Linked DNA regions of Homo sapiens: region 1 is linked to region 2. Evidence: promoter capture Hi-C in human tissues and cell types (Jung and others, 2019). All regions are on one chromosome and are shown on one strand. The core of a region is centred on a gene start or on the middle of the fragment in contact, and the rest is flanking DNA. Distances in the headings are between cores, read along the strand shown. Region 1 has its middle 96 kb from the start of CCDC201. Region 2 holds the start of ZMIZ2 (zinc finger MIZ-type containing 2).

Region 1 (3,378 bases), core at 482-2,981, 1.0 Mb before region 2:
AAGGTTAAGAGGGACCCCAGACCTTACAGATATAAGTTTAAGAGGGACCCCTAAGCAAAAAATGCCAACCCTTTTTCTCCCAATCATTGAAACACCAGGAGGGTGTAATAGTTTTGCAGCCTAGCTGTAGCAGGCTGATGTCCCCAAGATGCCCATATCCTAATCCCGGGAACTGGTGAACATGACCTTATATGGCAAAAGGGGCTTTGCAGATATAATGAAGTTAAGGGTCTTTGGCTGTTGGGGTTGATGTACTCACCCAGATCCTTATAAGAGCAGAGCAGGTGATGGAGAGGGTGGGAGGTGTAGTGACAGAAGCAGGAAACTCCAGTCATTCGAGACGGGCAGCACAAGCTGAGGAGTGCAGGCCACCTCCACGGCCAGGAAACAGATTCTCCCACAGAGCCTCAGAAGCCACCGACCCTGCTCCCACCTTGACTCAGTAGGACTTACTGTAGAATTCTGGCCTTCAGACCTGTAAGGGAATACATTTTGGTTGTTTTAAGTTACTAAGTGTGTGGTAATTTGTTGCAGCAGCCACAGGAAACTAGTATTGTAGTGAAGCCTCAAAACCCCCTGAAGGGGCTGGGCTCAGTGGCTCATGCCTGTAATCCCAGCACTTTGGGAGGCCGAAGTTGGTGGATCACTTGAGGTCAGGAGTTCGAGACCAGCCTGGCCAACATGGCGAAATGCCATCTATACAAAAAATAGCCGGGCATGGTGGCACATGCCTGTAATCTCAGCTACTCAGGAGGCTGAGACAGGAGAATTGTTTGAACTCAGGGGGGCGGAGGTTGCAGTGAACTGAGATTCCACTACTGCACTCCAGCCTGGGTGACAGAGCGGTGCTCCATCTCGAAAACAAAACAAAACAAAAAAACCCCACCTGAAGGTTTCCAGTTCTGCCAGCAGTCTCCCACCCAACCCCTAGAAGCAGACATTCCATTGCTGTGGGCCATGGACAGGCAGAAGGAAGCGCCTCCTCATGGCAGAGGCCTACCCAGGAGAAACCCAAGGGAAGGCACTGCCGGGCTGGCCCCTCTCTGCCAAGGCCATATTCTTTTTTTTTTTTTTTTTTTTTTGAGGCCTAGTTTCACTCTGTCTCCCAGACTGGAGTGCAGGGACACAATCTCGGCTCACTTCGACCTCCGCCTCCCCAGTTCAAGTGATTCTCCTGCCTCAGCCTCCTGAGTAGCTGGGATTACAGGAGTGTAGCATGCCTAGCTAATTTTTGTATTTCTAGTAGAGATGGGGTTTTGCCATGTTGCCCAGGCTGGACTCGAACTCCTTGCCTCAAGTAGTCCACCTGTCTCAGCCCCCCAAAGTGCTGGGATTACAGGAGTGAGCCACTGCACCCAGCATTTGCCAAGACCTTTGATGGCAGGCTTTTTCCAGGTGATCAGTCCTTGTCTGGTCTGGCTCTGCCCCACTCTCCTTCTCACCTAGTTGGAATCCCTAGCTACTTTTCAGCAGAGGAGAGTGTGTACCCCAGTCCCAGCTTGGTTCAGATCTGCATTTAACTCATGGAACCTGGCTGCTCCCCAGGTCCTGAAGAAAAAAAGGGGTCTCTCTGTGGGTATGATAAAGGATGGGCCTGTCCCCAGGACCCTGTGAGAGGGAAGCCCAATGTCCCACCAGGTTGGCAGGGCTGGGGAAGGGAGTGTTATGGTAGCCCCAAGAAAAAAAAAGGGCAGCAGAGGGAGCAGGACAGTGCTCACATGGAACTCTTGCCACTGCCTGAGTGAGGGGAGGGAGGAGTGCACGCCAGCGACGTCAGGGGGCAGAGAGGCGCAGTTCCAGGGCGGCTTTCCCCCTCACTTCCTGCCATGTTGCTCTGATCGCCTCCAGGTGAGCCTGCCCACTTTGTGCCCAGGAGCCTGTAGAAAACCACAGCTCCCCATGGTTATGGCCCCAGGAGTGGGGCAGAGCAGGGAGGAGTCCTGGACAGAGGAGAGGCAGGGGCAGGAGGGAGTGGGCCTCAAACTCCAGGAGTGGGCCCTTCTCATGGGTCCTGCTTTCTGGCTTCTCCTTCCTTACCCCTGGGCTGATCACTCGGGGAAGAACTGAGACAAAGTTTCTCACCCTCAGGCCCAAGGGGTTTAATTACTGGCCCCTTAGGGAGGTGTGAGCCCCCTGAAAGGATGCAAGGCTTTGTTTTGTTTTGTTTTTTGAGACAGAGTTTCGCTCCTGTCGCCCAGGCTGGAGTGCAGTGGCGTGATCTCACCACACTACAACCTGCGCCTCCCGGGTTCAAGTGATTCTCCTGCCTCAGCCTCCGGAGTAGCTGGGATTACAGGTGGCTGCCACCACACCTGGCTAATTTTTTGTATTTTTAGTAGAGACAGGGTTTCGTCATGTTGGGCAGGCTGGTCTTGAACTCCTGACCTCAGGTGATCCGAATGGCTCTGCCTCCCAAAGTTCTGGGATTACATGAGCCACTGTGCTTGGCCACAATGAAAGGTTTTGTGTGGAGAGCACATACATGCCTTTCTGGGAAAACAGTCCACAGCTCTTATTCTCAGCAGACTTCACGGTCAAAAAAGTTTAGAACTCTTGCTACAGAGCTGTGGAAGCAGCTAGGTGAGGGGCCTGCCAAGGGCACTCTGGGCACTACCTGGGCACTCTCGAGCCCATCATCCCCTAGGCAGGCTGCGCTGCTTGGTATTTGCAGAGCTGAGGGGGTGGGGCATGTGGGGACTGTGAAATCGCCCTGAGATGACCCACAGTCCTCAGCTGGGAAGTGAGCGGTGCATCTCCTGCAGTGTCCTCCATCCCTAGAGCCATGGGGCCAGGAGAACCGGCCCTTGCAGCAAGTGAAAAGCCTATTATTGACTCCCTCCCTAGCCATGTAGACAATGAACCAAGACACTCATATCAGGTAAATGCCTTGGTCTCTGTCACCGAGGTGACCAGTAGGCATTCCCAGATACAGTGAAGGTCCTCACACCAAGATATGCACCTGGCCACCTGAGGAAAGAGAGAGGACTATCTGAGGGGATGGGGCTGAGCTGGGTGTGGAGTGGTCCTTGTGGGTCTTGGTGAGTGGGAAGGGGAGCAGCATGAGCCAGGCCTCAAGGCAGAAGGACAACCAGGAGACAGCCTGGAAAAAGTGCTGGACCCACAACGGCTCGAGGCTGGCCAGAGGGGAGGTGGGATAGGCTGCAAAGTCCTGAGGTCTGAAGATTGGCCCTGGCAGGAAGAAACCAGGTAAGGTGGGGTGTTACCTACACCCTCGGGGCTAGATGCAGGCCAGAGCCAGCCAATTACCAGGCCCTTAGGGAGGTGTGAGCCCCTTGAAATGATGCAAGGTTTTTTGTTTTTGTTTTGGAGACGGAGTTTCGCTCTTGTCGCACAGGCTGGCACCTTTGCCCAGAGCAG
Region 2 (3,451 bases), core at 771-3,270:
CAGATCATGCAAGGCCCATGCCCACCAAGGGTCTTAGTGCCTGGCGCTTTCCTTGTAAACTAACTCCAGCTGGAAGCTAGGACCCCTTGAGAGATGGACAAGGTCAGTCTAGAGGGCCACAAGGCTTTCTCGGGGGTCAGATCACATCTTCCTCTAGACAGAGTTACAGAACTCACTACCCCAGACCTCTCTTCCCCAAATGTCCCAGAGTAGCTGCACCCCCAAGTCTCCTGGTTGACCTCCTGAGCCTTGTTCCATGCCACCTCTCTGCCTGCCTAGTCAGCTAGGAGCAGGACCAGCAAGTGGGCCCTGTGGCAGGCAACGCTTCTCAATAGGTCACACATCAGGACTCACTGTCTCCAAGATTGCAGGGTCAGGATCCAACCCAGGTGACAATGGAGTCAAAGGGTATTGAAGAAATGATGGCTGTGGAATGTTGCAGGAGCGGGGTCCTTGGTAGCAAAAAGTGGGGTACTCACATATACAGGTAGCTGAAAGTCCTGCCCCCTCTACCTGTAAGGCCACAGTACTAAAATGTCTAAGCGTGGGGCTAAGTCAGGATGCAGAGTTCATCAAAAAGTCCAGGAATAAGCAATGGCCCAGGCATGAGACATTTCAGTGAACAGCTGAAGGGACAACCTTAACCTGGCATCAGTTTACAATGTGTAAGATGGATATCTGGTAGCATCCTAGGACTGAGGACACATGACCACCTTCATGTCATCAGCCCTTGGGAGCTCAATCCCAATAATCAGGATGCTCCCCAAACATCTTAGGCCTGTCCTTCAGAAATCTACAACCGGCAACTGTCACCTGCTTGTTCTCTTCATTTACACTTCCAGCTTGTAACTATCCCCTGGGCATGACAAGGGCTAGAGGTCAGTACCTCTGGAAGTTAAGATTCCTTCACTTCTCCTGTTTCCACACTAAGCATCAAGGGATGCCCTCTGGTTCTAGCTTGCCAGAACTTGGTGGTGAGTCTGTGTCCATCCTATCCGTAATCACCACGGTCTCAGACCAAGTCACATGTTCCGTGTGTGTCCCTGTGAAATCTGCGATGACACAAATTAAAGACACCACCATGGATGTTCTGTAATACTGGAAAGAGGGTACCCTAGGGAGAAGGAGAGGCAGAACACTGCAGGGCAGAGGGTCCAGGGAATGGGAGGAGAGACACGGTAGGTGGAGGGGTAAACAAGGCACCGGGTGGGGGTGCCGCGGTGAAGGACACCTGGCACTAGGGAAGACAAGGCACCTCAGGGGAGCAGGGCATCCTCACGCCTGAGCTTCAGTATGTCCAGTTTGGAAAGGGGTGTCCCCATCAAAACTGGCAGCTGGGGGCTGGCCGCTCAGCGTCGTTCAGCCCAGGAGCGGAACAGCTCCTCCGCGAGCAGGTGACGGCCTCAGACGGCCCCCACATCGCCGTGCTGGTGGGCACGTAAGTAGGAGCGGAGGGGCGTACCATGTAGGTGAGACTGCCTGGCCCCAAAGCTAGGAACGATCAGGTTGGAGCGAAGGCCCGGCCAGCCTTCATCGCTCAGGAGAACCCCGAGCGCCGCTTACACCCCTCGGCCAGCCTCCAACAAAGACTCAGGGGAGGGCTGGATGACCCTGACGCCCACGGGGCCGAGCCTGCCCAAGACCACGACGCACGCGTGGCAGGTGCCGGCAGGTGGGCGGCAGAGCCTCTAGCCCCAGCCCAGCTGTGAACCCTACCGTGGCGCCGCAGCGGAACCGGGGCGCCCCGGGCGACCAGCTACACCTGCCTGCCCGCCCGCACCTGCCGGCCCGCACCTGCCGCACCTGCCTGCCCCCGCCGGCCCACACCTGCCTGCTGGCGGCGTTGCCAGGGGCCACCCCCAGGACCCCGCTCACCTCCGCCCGGCCTGGCCCGGCCCCTCGCCGTGGCGGCCCCCGGCCCGCGCCGCTCCATGCGCTCAGCCCGCCCTCCGCGCCGCCCGCCGCCCCGGGGCCGCCGCCACCCGCGCCATCGCGCCGCCGCCCGCTCCGAGGGCACAATGGAGCCGCCGCCGCGCCGCTCATGCATATGCATGACGCCGCGCAGCCGGCCCCGCCTCCCAGGCCAGAGCAGCAGAGCCCCGAGCCGGCGCTCGGGGCGGGGGCGGCCGCGAGCCCGAGCGGCCCAAAGCGGCAGGGTGGGGCCAGGGCCGCAGGTGGCTGGGCGGGCAGGAGACGCAGCCTGATCGCGACCTGCGCCCCCAGCCCCCTCCACACCTTTCTGAACGCGGCGTCGGCAGAGCCACTGCGCTCTTCCTGCTCGCAGTCCGCCGGGAGCGGGGCGGGGCCGGGCGGCGGAGGCGGGGCCAGGACGCCGGGGCGGGGCCGAGTGGAAGGCGGGGCCAAGGTGCCGGGGCGGGGTCGGGAGGAGGAGGCGGATCCAGAGAGCCGGGGTGGGGCCAGGGCTCGGGGCGGGCCCCGGCGGAGGAGGAAAGGAAGAGTGAGTCCTTGCCCTTCCCCCACCCGCCCCGCCCGCGCCCCGCCCGCGCCCCCCCTGCTTCCTGGGAGTCCATTGCTCTGGCCCGGCGGGCGGGGACACGACTGGGAGACAGAGAGACCCAGGGTGCCACTTTTGGGAGGGGATCTTATTAAAGGACTCCGGAAGCCCCTCGTTAAAGCAGAAAACTAAACTTAACAAGTTCGCTGTCCTCACTGCTCAGTTCTCTCTTCCCAGTGGTTCTCCTTCTGGAAAAAGTCACTATTGAGCTAGTCTAGCCTGATGGAATAGCCTCTCTGATCAGTTTCGATCTTTGAAATGCTATTATCAGCCTTTAAGTTATTCTTGACTTTTCCTACCGTAAGTTGAGGAAGACCACATTCTCTCAACTACCCATAATTAATTTTTCTTAATTGTGGTAAAATACACATAACGTAAAACTTACCATCTTAACTGTTTCCAAGTGTAGTTCTGTGGCACCAAGTACATTCACATTCTTGTGCAACCACCAACCGTCTCCAGGACTTTTTCATCTTCTCAAATGGAAACTCCATACCCAGTAAACACTAGCTCCCCATTCTTTCCTCCTCCTAGCCTTTGGCATTCACTATTCGTCTCTAAATTAGACTACTCTAAGGACATCGTATAAGTGGAATCATACATTATATGTCTTTTTGTGACAGTCTTACTTTAGTTAGCACAGTGTCCTCACTTCCATCCATGTTGTGGCATGTGTCAGAATTTCTTTCTTTCTTTCTTTCTTTCTTTCTTTCTTTCTTTCTTTCTTTCTTTCCTTTCTCTCTCTCTTTCTTTCTTTCTTTCTTTCCTTCCTTCTTTCCTTCCTTCTTCCCTCCCCTTCCCTTCCCTTCTTTTTTTTGACGGAGTCTCACTCTGTCGCCAGGCTGGAGTGCAGTGGTGCAATCTCGGCTCACTGCAACCTCCACCTCCCAGGTTCAAGCGATTCCCCTGCCTCAGCCTCCTGAGTAGCTGAGACTA

The links. Contacts are between HindIII fragments. The study calls those that stand out against the background at their distance.
Region 1: a contact is called between a fragment that was not itself captured here and the fragment with the promoter of ZMIZ2 in region 2, in 1 of the 25 tissues and cell types used here (dorsolateral prefrontal cortex).

What each region holds. Positions count from the first base shown.
Region 1 is chr7:45,775,284-45,778,661 of GRCh38, reverse strand. It overlaps the pseudogene GTF2IP13. Among named protein-coding and RNA genes, the nearest start is that of CCDC201, 96 kb to the left of the region's middle. The HindIII fragment of the contact is 6,550 bases long and covers 1-3,378 here.
Region 2 is chr7:44,747,416-44,750,866 of GRCh38, reverse strand. ZMIZ2 (zinc finger MIZ-type containing 2) reads right to left here and starts at 2,020. Exons shown (of 19, transcript NM_031449.4): 1 at 1,876-2,020. RefSeq lists silencers at 1,716-1,765, 1,776-1,885, 1,996-2,525. The HindIII fragment of the contact is 31,122 bases long and covers 1-3,451 here.